Regions from separate parts of the Homo sapiens genome. Here regions 1, 2 and 4 are each linked to region 3. Evidence: promoter capture Hi-C in human tissues and cell types (Jung and others, 2019). All regions are on one chromosome and are shown on one strand. Each heading gives the region's core, a stretch centred on a gene start or on the middle of the fragment in contact. The rest is flanking DNA. Distances are from core to core; before and after follow the strand shown. Region 1 overlaps RPL18A (ribosomal protein L18a). Region 2 holds the start of JAK3 (Janus kinase 3). Region 3 holds the start of IL12RB1 (interleukin 12 receptor subunit beta 1). Region 4 holds the start of PGPEP1 (pyroglutamyl-peptidase I).

The links. The method cuts DNA at HindIII sites, captures the fragments that hold promoters and counts their contacts. A contact is called where the count stands out against the background at its distance.
Region 1: a fragment that was not itself captured here is called in contact with the fragment with the promoter of IL12RB1 in region 3 in 4 of the 25 tissues and cell types used here (dorsolateral prefrontal cortex, lymphoblastoid cells, neural progenitor cells and 1 more).
Region 2: the fragment with the promoter of JAK3 here is called in contact with the fragment with the promoter of IL12RB1 in region 3 in 3 of the 25 tissues and cell types used here (dorsolateral prefrontal cortex, lymphoblastoid cells and spleen).
Region 4: the fragment with the promoter of PGPEP1 here is called in contact with the fragment with the promoter of IL12RB1 in region 3 in 6 of the 25 tissues and cell types used here (H1 embryonic stem cells, heart right ventricle, liver and 3 more).

The regions. Positions count from the first base shown.
Region 1 is chr19:17,863,264-17,866,523 of GRCh38, forward strand. It overlaps RPL18A (ribosomal protein L18a), which reads left to right. Exons shown (of 5, transcript NM_000980.4): 5 at 1-56. Among named protein-coding and RNA genes, the nearest start is that of SNORA68, 2.3 kb to the left of the region's middle. RefSeq lists an enhancer at 1,613-1,752. The HindIII fragment of the contact is 9,841 bases long and covers 1-3,260 here.
Region 2 is chr19:17,846,360-17,849,463 of GRCh38, forward strand. It overlaps JAK3 (Janus kinase 3), which reads right to left and starts at 1,623. Exons shown (of 24, transcript NM_000215.4): 1 at 1,587-1,623. The HindIII fragment of the contact is 13,300 bases long and covers 1-3,104 here.
Region 3 is chr19:18,084,928-18,088,376 of GRCh38, forward strand. It overlaps IL12RB1 (interleukin 12 receptor subunit beta 1), which reads right to left and starts at 2,007. Exons shown (of 17, transcript NM_005535.3): 1 at 1,833-2,007. The coding sequence starts at 1,896. RefSeq lists enhancers at 1,919-2,268, 2,279-2,338. The HindIII fragment of the contact is 62,137 bases long and covers 1-3,449 here.
Region 4 is chr19:18,338,844-18,341,866 of GRCh38, forward strand. PGPEP1 (pyroglutamyl-peptidase I) reads left to right here and starts at 1,755. Exons shown (of 5, transcript NM_017712.4): 1 at 1,755-1,872. The coding sequence starts at 1,839. RefSeq lists a silencer at 1,604-1,793 and an enhancer at 1,625-2,312. The HindIII fragment of the contact is 61,917 bases long and covers 1-3,023 here.

The DNA.
Region 1 (3,260 bases), core at 415-2,914, 220 kb before region 3:
GTGCAGGGCCCTCGTCCGGGTGTGCCCCAAATAAACTCAGGAACGCCCCGGTGCTCGCCGCATGTTTTCTTTGCACACTGCAGAGCTCAAAGGGGTGCTATGAGAGGCCGGCCCAGTCAGCTCCTGGGGTGCAGCTGAGCTGCCATTTCTTTGTCCTGGGAGGGGTCTTCAGTGCAAACAAACAAACCCTCACATCCTCCTGTCCTGGAGTGGGCCCTCCAGGCGCCCCCACCCCTGAGCTCCCTCTTGCTTGGTCAGTTCTCAGCCCTGCTGGCAGCCCTGGGCTATGAGCTGCAGGGGTACTGTCTGTCCTGGGCCCTAAATCTGTCCCAACTGCCTTGTGAGACACAGGCCTCCCAGGCTCCCCTGCTGAGTCTGGACCAGGGAGAATCTCCCTAGATAGTGGGGTTGGCGTTCACTCCCTGGGGATTCTCCTAAGTCTCTGGTTCCCAAAGTTTTCAGAGTAGACACAAGTGGGCACCCGAGGGGCGCTCTCTGCTGCTTGGGGGCTGTTTCCCTTTCACTGGTTGGGGGCCTCTTAGATGACGCCCTCATCTTGCCCAAGGAGGTCAAGGACTCACCACAGGTACTCATCTCTGGGAAACTGCCTCAGGCCTGGAAAATTCCAGGCATGACACTAATCCCACCCTGGCTGAGTCCTTCTGTCAGGTGGAGGCTAAGCTGGCATTGGAGAAGTTTGAGACACAGCCAAGAGCTCAGGCTCTGGGAGCCTCCCATCCTTTGTTGCGTGACCTTGGGCAGCCCTGTTCTGGGCCAGCGGCCCTTCTGGGGCTTGCTGTCTTGATCTCAACATCGGGTTCCACATTGATGTGGGAAGTGACGCTGTGCAGGTGCTGGGGTCAGCCTATGGGGCCCTCCTTTGTCCCAGAGAGCCCAGGACCAGGAGGAAGCCAGGACTAGGTAGTAGTTACGGCTTTTTGAAACAGGGTCTTGCTCTGTCGCCCTGGCTAGAGTGCAGTGGAGAGATCGTGGCTTACTGTAGCCTCGACCTCCTGGGCTCAAGTGGTCCTCCTGCCTCAGCCTCCCAAGTAGCTGGGACTACAGGGGCACCACCACACTCAGGGCAAGGACACAGCCTTTCCTCTACCTGTGGAGGAGCTGTGTGGTTTCCAGGAAACCAGGCCTTTTCCAGCCTCACCTGTGGGGTGTTGTAACACCCAGGAACTTGGAGAGGCGCCCAGAACCTGGGCAGGGTCAGCACACAAGCACCCATTCTGCGTAAGACCCAGGCCTGAGGACAGCCCTGTAGACCACAGAACCCCACGGGTCCCGTCCCCAACAACTGGCTCCTTCCCACCCTAGGGCCTTCGCACTTGCCTGGAATACTACAGATTCCCCCAGGCTGGCCTCACTCGAGTTTTACAAACTGCACGTGGGTTCCCGGGACTGGGCTATATTTGATTTCTATCCCCCACTAGTTCTGAGAGGGCAGGGGCTGTGTGTGTCACCCAGTGTATCCAGGAGGGGCTCAACTTTCCATGGTATCCTTTTTGTTTCGTGAAAGCTCTTTACATATGCGGGGCAAAAGCTTGAGAAGAGTCATACATTTTCCCAGGATATCTTTCTTTTTTTGAGACGGAGTCGCGCTTGGTTGCCCATGCTGGAGTGCAGTGGCACAGTCTCAGCTCACTGCAACCTCTGCCTCCCAGGTTCAAGGGATTCTCCTGCCTCAGCCTCCAGAGTAGCTAGAATTACAGGTGCCTGCCACCACGCCTGGCAAATTTTTTGTATTTTTAGTACAGACGGGGTTTCACCATGTGGGCCGGGCTAGTCTGGAACTCGACCTCATGCCACCTGCTTTGGCCTCCCAAAGTGCTGGGATTACAGGTGTGAGCCACCCCGCCTAGCCCAGGATATCTTTTGATGTTCCTTAGAGTATATTGGATGGGGGGTGCTAGCTGGAAATCTTAAAATTTTGCCTGAATTTCATTCATCTTGTGGTTTCTAGTACAAACTCTCCTTTCTCCATAAGGGAATCTTCATACTTAAGTGCCACCCAGAAAAGAAAATACATTTCCTAACCTCCATAGCTATGGCCAGGTGTGGCTCATGGCTGTCATCTCAGCACTTTGGGAGGCTGAGGTAGGAGGATCACTTGAGGCCAGGAGTTTGAGACCAGACTGGTAGACATAGTGAGACCCTGTCTTTACCAAGTAACATTAGCTGGGTGTTGCGGTGCACACCTGTAGTCCCAGCTACACGGGGGCCTGAGGTGTGAGAATCACTTGAGCCTGGAGGTTGAGGCTGCAGTGAACCATGATCATGCCACTGTACTCCAGCCTGGAAACAAGACGAGACCAAACAAAACAAAAATACAGTACTGATGTGCCATTTCTGAGAAAGAACGCCTCTGGCTGGTGTGGACATGATGGCCAGTGCTGCAGCAGTCATTTTGGACTATGAAGAAGCAACACACAGGAGCAGTGAGGGAGAAGGATCTCCGGTACTTGACCCTGTGCAGTGCTGCCCCCGTCCCTGAGGCTTGACCCTTCTACCCCCTTGATTAGAACACGGGGAGGAGACATGAGTCCTGCTTAGGCTGTAATGGAGCTGCTCTGTTAGATGTGACCTTACCTTACCTTGAGCTGGGCCTGAAGCAGGGCGTGGCACTGTGGACTCAGGCCGTAACTGCCTGGAAGTCCCTGCCCTCTCTGAGCCATTTCTTCCTGTATAAAGTGAGGGCGGTGATCCCTCCAGGCTGCAGGGCAGGCGAGGTGATATTAGGTGAGTTGGAGGATGAGAGATCAGGAGAGTGGAAGGCTCACGGCCCCACCAAAGCCCACTGCATACCCTCATCTCCACCTCAGTCCCCTCCCTGTGCCTTGGAGCCCCTCCAGGGCTTCAACCACGTGGCAGCAGCCTGGGAACCACTTGGGAGAGCTCTGCCCCAACCAGCTGAGACATGGAGGCCAATCCCATTATTGAGGGGCCATTGACAGGATGAATGTGCTCCCAGATCACTAGCCTGCACCTATTCACCTACCTTGGCACACTCAGCCTCTCATAAATGTGCCCAGAAGCCCCTCTACCACCGAATTCCCCCACCCCCTGCCAAACCCCATCCTTCCATTCAGTCAGATTCCTCCACCATCCAACCAGCTACCTGTCCATCCATTCGTCCACTCAATCCACCCACCCCATCCATTCATCCTTCCACTCATCCACCTACCCATCCATCCATCCACCCAACCATCCAGCCATCCATCCAGCTATCCACCCACCCACCCATCCATCAACTC
Region 2 (3,104 bases), core at 373-2,872, 240 kb before region 3:
TGTGGGAAGGGAAGTCTTGTGGGGGAAAGAACCTTACCAAAGGGACACTTTGATGTCACCGATGCCCAGACCAAGAATGAGCACATTCCTAGTCCCGGGAACCTTGGAGGAGCCCCATCTCTCCCACAGAGAGATTGATGTCTAGTTTTGCCCTTTATAGAAATAAAATCACACACCATAGCCTCTCTATCGTCCCCTCAACATCAGCCAATCAAGTTTTTTGGTTTGTTTGTTTGTTTTTTTGAGACGGAGTCTCGCACTGTCACCCAGGCTGGAGTGCAGTCGCACGATCTTGGCTCACTGTAGCCTCTGCCTCCTGGGTTCAAGCGATTCTCATGCCTCAGCTTCCCAAGTGGCTGGGATTACAGGCGCGCACCACAGCGCCCAGCTAATTTTTGTATTTTTAGTAGAGACGGAGTTTCACCATGTTGGCCAGGCTGGTCTCAAACTCCTGGCCTCAGGTGATTCGCCTGCCTTGGCCTCCCAAAGTGCTGTGATTACACACGTGAGCCACATTGCCCAGCCTTTTTATTTATTTATTTATTTTGTAGGGGGGAGGACGGATTCTTGTTCTGTCTCCCAGGCTGGAGTGCAGTGGCATGATCTCGGCTCACTGCAAACTCCACCTCCCAGGTTCAAGCGATTCTCCTGCCTCAGCCTCCTGAGTAGCTGGAATTACAGGCACCCGCCACCAAACCTGGCTAATTTTTGTGTTTTTAGTAGAGATAGGGTTTCACCATGTTGACCAGGCTGATCTCGAACTCCTGACCTCCAGTGATCCGCTGGCCTCAGCCTCCCAAAGTGTTGGGATTAAAGGCATGAGCCACTGTGCCCAGCCCCAGTCGAGTTTAAAATAAGGCTTCAGTGGCAGTGGCGCCCCACTGCAATCCCAGCTACTCAGGGGGCTGAGGCAGCAGGATAGCTTGAGGCCAGGGGTTAGAGACCTGCCTGAACAACATAGCAAGACTCCCATCTCCAAAACAACAAAAAAATCTTAACAGAATATTATTATTCTGTAATACTGTAACAAAAAAAAATGAAAAGTCAGAGGTGATGTTTGGTCCCAGAAAACGCCATAGTTTTTTTGGTTTTTTAAAAATGTTTGTAGAAATGGAGGTCTGGCTATGTTGCCCAGGCTGGCCTTGAACTCCTGGCCTCAAGCTATCCTCCCGCCTCGGCATCCCCTGTTTATAATCCTCAACGTTCTGCATCCTGGTATGGTCGGGTACCCTGTGTCTGGACCGGGAAGGCCTGGAGGGTAGGGGCTGGGAACTCCGCCCCCCAATCCCTCCTTCCCAATCCCTCCTCCCCACCCCCAACCCCGCAGCCCCCGTCGCGCATGCGCAATGACTCCTCCAGGTCCGCAAGGCAGGCATCTCCCGGCCTTAGTCAAAGCCGAAGCCCAGAGAAGCGAGCGATCGGAGGATGCGAGTCTCGGCTCACGTCTGCCTCGCAGCTTTCCTCCGAGGCCTGGAAGGCGAGCTAGCCTTTGCCCTGGCAGCACCCTGCCCCAGCCCAGCCATCCCCCGCCACCACCATCCTCCCCCAGTGTCTGGGCCGAGCCCTGCGGCATCGCCAGCTCTTACCTAGCGGGCAGGGACCCTGGACTTTCGAAGGGCGGGCAGAGCCGGGAGGCAGCGAGAGGAAAGTCCCACTCGGCTCCTTCCTGTGTGGGCCCCTTGGTTTCCTGAGCCACTGTCATTTACCGAAAGTCAGGGCCCTGCGGGAGCTGGGGGCGGGGAGGCGGGCAAGGAGGGGCAGAAAGTTCCGGAAGCCTCTGCATCAGCCGCCCCGTTCAGACAGGCTGCTGGAGACCCCTAAGCCAAAGGAACTGATGATAGCACAGAGAAGGGTCTGGGTCACACCAGGGGCTCAGCCGACTCTAGACCCACTTGTTAAGTGGGGCTCTGGCCCGGCCCTTATTGCCTCAGTTTACCCATCTGTAGCATGTGTGAGTTGGGCACCCAGTGGAACTAATTTTGCACCCAGGGAAGGAAACCTGGCTGGATTTGCCCAGGAGGGAAGCAGGGAAGTTGCCCCAGAGGAAGGTCAAGTTCTTCTTTGAGGTATTTCTCCCTTAAGACTCAGGGAGACGCTGGGCGCAGTGGCTCACGCCTGTCATCCCAGCACTTTGGGAGACTGAGGCGGGCGATTACTTGAGGTCAGGAGTTTGAGACCAGCCTAGCCAACATGGCGAAACTCCGTCTCTACTAAAAATACAAAAATTAGCCAGGCGTGGTGGCCTGTAATCGCAGCACTTTGGGAGGCTGAGGCGGGCGGATCACTTGAAGTCAGGAGTTTGAGACCAGCCTGGCCAACATGATGAAACCCTGTCTCTACTAAAAACAGGAAAATTAGCCAGGCCTGGTGATGCCTGTAATCCTAGCTACTCAGGAGGCTGAGGTGGGAGGATTGCTTGAATCTAGGAGGCGGATGTTACAGTGAGACGAGATGGCGCCACTGCACTCCAGCCTGGCAACAGAGCGGGACTTCGTTTAAAAAAAAAAGAAAAGACTCAGGGAGAGATAATGACCCATTTCTGCCTGTGGTGCCCTGGGCCCAGCCCTAAAAAACCAGGTGGATCCGGCCTGGCCTCTTGGAACTTGTGATCTGGCGCTGAGACAATGAGCAAATGAAGGAGCCAAATCATCGCAGACAACAAAGAAAGCCAGGGTGTCAGGACAGGCACAGACTGGAACTTGGACCCGAGGCAGGACAGGGAGCTGGCCAGGGAAAGGGTGCTCCAGGAGGAGGGCACAGGATGGGCAAAGACCTTGAGAGGGCAGTGATCTTAGCAGCTTGAAGAGCAGTCAGGAGGCCAGGGGCAGGGGTGAGATGAGGGGGAAGGGGACTGCAGGGCGGTCAACAGGGGCAAGATCGTGGGGGGACAGGGGGATCAGGGTCTTTGGGAGAAGGGTGGGTTTTGCCTGGAGCATAATCTGGAGCCACAGGAGAGTTGGAAGTAGGAGCTGTTATAAATAGAAGAGGCAGAAGGCCCGGGCAGCATCCAAATGCAGAGACTTGGGCCAGTGTTCTTAGGATAATAGGATCAGAGCCCCGGAAGTAGAGCTTCAGGAATAGACTGACGAAGTGGTGACCGGGTA
Region 3 (3,449 bases), core at 757-3,256:
GAAAGACAGTAGAGGGTGCATGGCAGGGAGAGGCCTGCCAGGGCTGGCCCAGGCAAGCACACTTGGCCCACTAGCAGTCAGGGCAATTATTAATAACATTTCTCCAGGAGGCAGCGACCTCCCTCAGCCACTGGGATCCCCGTGCCCTTTGGGATTGCCACAGTCTGCTAGGTGTGGAACTGGGTGAGAGAAGGAGGGGGATGCCACCATGGATGGGTCAGGAAGACCCCGGCGCCCTCACTCCCACAAGAAGGACCTGTCCTGAGCCCTGCAGGCAGATTGGAAGCCTTGGGGGAGAAGGCGGCACCCCAGGAAACAGCCCCAAGTGTCCAACCTTGAGGGGGGAAAGATGCTTAACACACAAGGCTCTCCATCCTTCCATCTCTCTCTGTGATGACACAGAACCCCCACCCACCCACCCACCCCTGAGAGCCTAAAGCCCATCCTCCTTCCCTTTCCCTGGACTGACCACTCACTGCCACTATCTCCAGGATACCTCGTGGGCTGCCTCTCGCCCCCTCCCTGCTGCTGGTCTCCAGCCATGCCTGGCCCCTGAAGGCGCTGGGACCTTGAGGTGTGGCCAGCACTGCTGTGGGCATTCTACAGGCACTCAGTGCATCTCAAGAGCCATTGAAAAAGTCAGCACCCCGCTGATCCCCAGTGTACAGAGAAGGAAAGTTTATTTATTATTATTATTATTGAGATAGAGTCTTGCTCTGCCACACAGGCTGGAATGCAGTGCTGCAATCTCGGCTCACTGCAACCTCTGCCTCCTGGGTTCAAGCGATCCTCCCACCTCAGCTCCTAAGTAGCTGGGAGTACAGGTGCCCATCATCAAGCCTGGCTAATTTTTGCATTTTTAGTAGAGATGGGGTTTCACCATGTTAGCCAGGCTGGTCTCGAACTCCTGACCTCAAGTGATCCACCCATCTTGGCCTCCCATAGTGCTGGATTTTCAGGAGTGAGTCACCGTGCAGGGCCTGAGATTATTAAAAGTATATGGGAAGGCTGGGCATGGTGGCTCATGCCTGTAATCTGAGCACTTTGGGAGGCCAAGGTGAGTGGATCATTTGAGCCCAGGAGTTCGAGACCAGCCTGGGCAACACAGCGAGACGCTGTCTCTGTAAAAAGTATACACCAAAAAAATTAACCAGGCATGGTAGTGTGCACCTGCAGTCCCAGCTACTCAAGGGGCTAAGGCAGGAGGATCACTTGAGCCCAGGTGGTCAAGGCTGCAATGAGTTATGATTAGGCCACTGCACTCCAGCCTGGGACACAGAGTGAGACCCTACCTCAGTAAATAAATAAATAAATAAATAAATAAATAAATAAATAAATAAATAAGTAAAGTATACGGAAGGATGTGCATAGGTTATATGCAAATACTTTACCATTTTATATCAGGAACTTGAGCATCTTTGGATTTTGGTATCTGCAGAGGGTCCTGGAACCATTGCCCCGTAAATATGGAAATGACTGTATACATTATATTATGTATGTCTATCTATTGTAAACTACATACATAAGATACTATACTATGTATACCTATTAGATACATACTTGCTTTTTATTCCTTCCTTAGTTTTTTTTCTCATTGAACTCCGGGAGGTGGAAAAAATTTAGTGCATTTCACAGAAGAGAAAATCTAGACCAGAGGAAAGATGTCTAAGTTCGATCCCAGAAGCCATGACTGCCCATCTCCCATTTGACAGCAGGAAAGACTGAGGCACAGAGAGATGAAACCAACCCACACAGCAGGCCCACAGCTCTCCACACATACACGTGCCTCCACCCAGCAAGAGGAGCCGCCATGCCAGGGTCAGGGGACTCACCGCCCTGCCTGGACAGCAGGAAGAGGAAGAGGAGGGGGACCACCCAGGTCACCAGCGGCTCCATCGGATCCACGTAGAGCCCCACAGCCCCAGGGGAGCCTCTCTGCCACCTGCGAGGTTCAGCCACCCCGTCCCCACTCCGGAACACATTGAAGCTGAGCAAGGAGAAAAGACTGAAAAAAAAGAAAAAAGAAAAAAAGTAAAGTGTCACAGCCCATCCCTAAGGCAAGTCAAAGTGAAAGAGAAACCCAGGAAGTCAGCTCCGTGGTGGTGGTGATGGTGGCGGCCACAGACTCTGGAGCAAGTCTGACTTTGGAGCAAGTCAGGGTTCTAGGGGGTTCTGCCCTGCTGGCCCCAGACCTGAACTGAACACCCAGATGCCAGCCCCATGGGCCCATGGGCCACCTGTGGTTCCATGCACTTGGCCAGGTCTCTGGCCCTCTCTAGCCAATTTTTTTTTTTTTTTTTGAGATGGAGCCCTGCTCTGTCGCCCGGGCTGGAGTGTGGTGGCATGATCTCCACTCACTGCAACTTCTGCCTCCCGGGTTCAAGCAATTCTCCTGCCTCAGCCTCCCGAGTAGCTGGAATTACAGGCAACTGCCACAACATCGAGCTAATTTTTGTATTTTTAGTAGAGACAGGGTTTCACCATGCTGGCCAGGCTGGTCTCGAACTCCTAACCCTAAGTGATCCACCCACCTCAGCCTCCCAAAGTGCTGGGATGACAGGCGTGAGCTACCGTGCCTGGCTGCCAAATTCTTTTTTTCTTCTTTTGAGATAGGGTCTTGATCTGTGGCCCAGCTGTAGTGCAGTGGTGCAATCACGGCTCACTGCAACATCAACCTCCCCAGGCTCAGGCCATCCTCCTACCTCAGCCTCCCCAGGAACTGGGACTACAGGCATGCACCACCACGCCCAGCTAATTTTTGCATTTTTTTTTTTTTAAGAGAGGGGGTTTTGCCATGTTGCCCAGGCTGGTCTCAAACTCCCGGGTTCAAATGATCCGTCCGCCTTGGCCTACCAAAATTCTGGGATCACAGGCGTGAGCCACCGCACCGGGCCATCTCGCCAGCTTCTGAATCTGAGACTCAAGAGCTGAAGGAGGGCAGTGTTCTTGGATGGCCTAATTTCATCCTTCCAACAAATTGTTACAAAGAGCTTGCAGCATGCTGGCCCTCCACAATGCCCACCTCCCCACATGCCAAGCTCCAGCCTTGTGCACCTGGGCTCACCCCTCTAATCCCAGCACTTTGAGAGGTCGAGGTGGGAGGATCACTTGACCCCAGGAGTTTGGGTCTACCTAAACAACATAGCAAGACCCCATCTCTATAAAAAATAAAGAATTAGGCCAGGCGCGGTGGCTCACGCCTGTAATCCCAGTACTTTGGGAGGCCAAGGCAGGTGGATCACGAGGTCAGGAGTTTGAGACCAGCCTGACCAAAATGGTGAAACCCTGTCTCTACTGAAAATACAAAAATTAACCGGGTGTGGTGGCAGGCACCTGTAATCCCAGCTACTGAGGAGGCTGAGGCAGGAGAATCGCTTGAACCCAGGAGGTGGAGGTTGCAGTGAGCCGAGATCGCGCCACTGCACTCCAGCCTGGGCAACAGAGTGACA
Region 4 (3,023 bases), core at 505-3,004, 250 kb after region 3:
TGGTCTCTGATGAATGTTGGCAGAATGTGCCTGGGGATGTGCTGGGTGTTGAGACGCAGCTCTAACAGAACAACGCTTCCTCCTCTAGAAGTTCTCATCTCTATGTCGGAGGAAACGGGAAGCCAACCAGAGAGGCTGTGACCATACTAAATGATTTCTGCTTAATAATACCTGGGGAGGGGGCCGGAGGCAGTGGTTCACGCCTGTAATCCCAGCACTTTGGGAGCTGAAAAGGGTGGATCACCTGAAGTCAGGAGTTCGAGACCAGCCTGGCCAACATGGTGAACCTCCCTCTCTACTAAAAATACAAAATTAGCTGGGTATGGCGGCACTCGCCTGTAATCCCAGCTACTTGGGAGGCTGAGGTGGGAGAATTGCTTGAACCCGGGAGGCAGAGGTTGCAGTGAGCCAAGATCACACCACTGCACTCCAGCCTGGGTGACAAGAGTGAAACTACGTCTCAAATAAATAAATACATATATAATTTCTGCTTAATAATACCTGGGGGACTAAATAATCTGTACAACAAACCCCATGACACGAGTTTATCTATATAACAAACCTGCACATGTACCCCAAAACTTAAAAGCTAAAAAAAATTAAAAATGATTTCTGGCCAGGTGTGCTGGTTTACACCTGTAATCCCAGCACTTTTGGGAGGCCAAGGTGTGCGGATTGCTTGAGCTCGGGAGTTCGAGACCAGCCTGTGCAACACTATGAAACCCCCATCTCTACAAAAATACAAAAATTAGCTGGGTGTGGTGCCACACACCTGTAGTCCCAGCTACTCAGGAGGCTGAGATGTGAGGATCAGTTGAGCCCTGGAGGTCAAAGTTACAGAGCTATGATTTTGCCACTGCACTCCAGCCTGGGTAACAGAGTGAGACCCTGTCTCCAAAAAAAAGAGAGAGAAAGGAAATTATTTCTGAGCTTTATTGCTATGAAGAGGATGGAACCAGGGAATGAGATGGAACCACTGGGGGGTAGCAGTGAGGTCATTTCAGCCAAGGAGGGCCAGAAGGAACCCTCAGAGGAGGTAATAGGATAGCAGGGAGGTGATAGCCAGAGAAGGCCACAAGGAGAAAGTGACAGTTCACCCCTCGGAGGAGGTGACAGCCAGGACAGGAGGAGGGCCCCTGGGAGGAGGCGACATTGGAACACTGGAGCTGAGGCCTGAAGGAGGCCAGCTTCGCAGGTACCTGCGGGGTGTGTTCCGGCAGAGGGAACAGCAGGTACAATCGCCCTCCCCCATTAGCCTCCTAGGACCATGGGGGCCTGCAGAGAAACTTCTGGCACCACACAAATATGGTTGTCGTGTTTTTCCTTTTTTACTCTGTCCTCCCCCACCCCCGCCAACTTCCTGGCCTGAATGCTGCTCCTGTGACCCCTTGAGGCGAGTGACCTCGGGGAAGTGGCATTCTGTGCCTCAGTTTCCTTATCTGGAAAACGGGCCTTGCTCGCGGGGACTTCCCTCCCTAATTCTGCGCAGTATGCATGCATAGGGCAGGCCCTCAATGAACCCTTGCAGAATAAAGGACCGGCTCATCCCCAGCACCTGGCTCAGTGCGTGCAAGCGGCTACACACTACGGCATAAGATGTTCCCATTTTGCAGACGGGGAAACGGAGGCTGGGGAATACCGGGCCTAGCCGACGGGGGCGGGGCGCAGGGCGCGCACGCTGCGTCTCGGGCCCGGGGGCGCGCACGCCGAGCGGCTGACCGGGGGCGAGGCCGGGGGCTTGACAGGGGCGTGGCCTCGCGCGGCCGAGAGGCTGCAGCGGCAGCAGCTGTCGCGCCAGTCGCAACAGAAGCAGGTCCGAGGCACAGCCCGATCCCGCCATGGAGCAGCCGAGGAAGGCGGTGGTAGTGACGGGTACGCTGGCTGATGGGGGCTGTAGCGGCAGCGGCCGGGGGCAGAGGCGGGGGCGGCTCCGGGACTGCGGGGCCGAGAGGGGCAGGTGCTGGAAGTCCTCTCAGATTTGGAAGGTGTCATCACCCGCGGGAGCCCCGCGCAGCCCAGGCTTCCTGGAAAGTGGAGGAGGAGGAGCCTTGGGGGTCCCAGGGTCGGGAGTCAGGGCAGTCGGGCGCGGGGCTTGGGGGGCCGGGCAAAAGCCCGGCGCTGCGCAGGCCCCCCTGGCGTCCTTTCCTCCCAAGGTGGGGATGGTGACCCTCCTGGCACCTGCCTCCTCTGTCTGGCCTGCGGGCTGGACTGGACCCTTCCTCCCTGCCCCTTCCGAGGTCCAGCCTGTCCCCACACCGCTCCCCCAACCCCTGGCCCCAGGGGACAAAGGCCGATTTGCGGGCAGGAAGTGTCCCAGTGACAAATGAACCTCCCAGTCACTGCTCGCCGCGCCCTGCGCTCCTGGGGGGCTACTCTCCCAAGGCAGGGGCAGGTGGGGGTCCGGGGACCTCGGGCTCTCCCAGCTGTCCCAGGGACTGTCTTCAGCGGAAACCTTTTTGTGTTTTGTGCCAGGGCTGTTTGTTGGTGAGTCAGGGCCCCTGCTGTCACCGACTCCCCCCCACCCCCAAACCAACTGTTTCTCCTCCCTGAGACTCCGCCTCGGGGCCACGTGGGGCGCCAACTTCCGCTGGGGCCTCAGAGTCAAGGAGTGGGGGGGTCATTTTGACCTGCTGTCTGGAGGGGTCAGAGTGGGAAATCCAGCAAAGGTGCACACAGGTGTTTTGTGGCTGTTGAAGGGAGATTGAGGCTGATCCAGGAGATTCAGGGAAGAAGGAAGAAACAAGGCACCTGCTTAACAGGTGTGTATAATTGGGAGGAGGGTCACTGCCCCCATCCCTTCCAGCCTTCCTTTATCTGGTTATTTATTCCAGCACTTTTTGCATGAGCTGATTACATCTTTACTGTCTCCATTTTGCAGAAAGGGAAACTGAGGCTCACAGAGGTCATCCAGTTTGTAAGGGGCTGAGCTGAGACTCAAACTTTGGCTGTACAGAAGGATAGAGTTAGGAGGTCCCCTCCTGAGCCACAGCCCCTACCTGCTATCCCAGGCTACAGCATCTCTG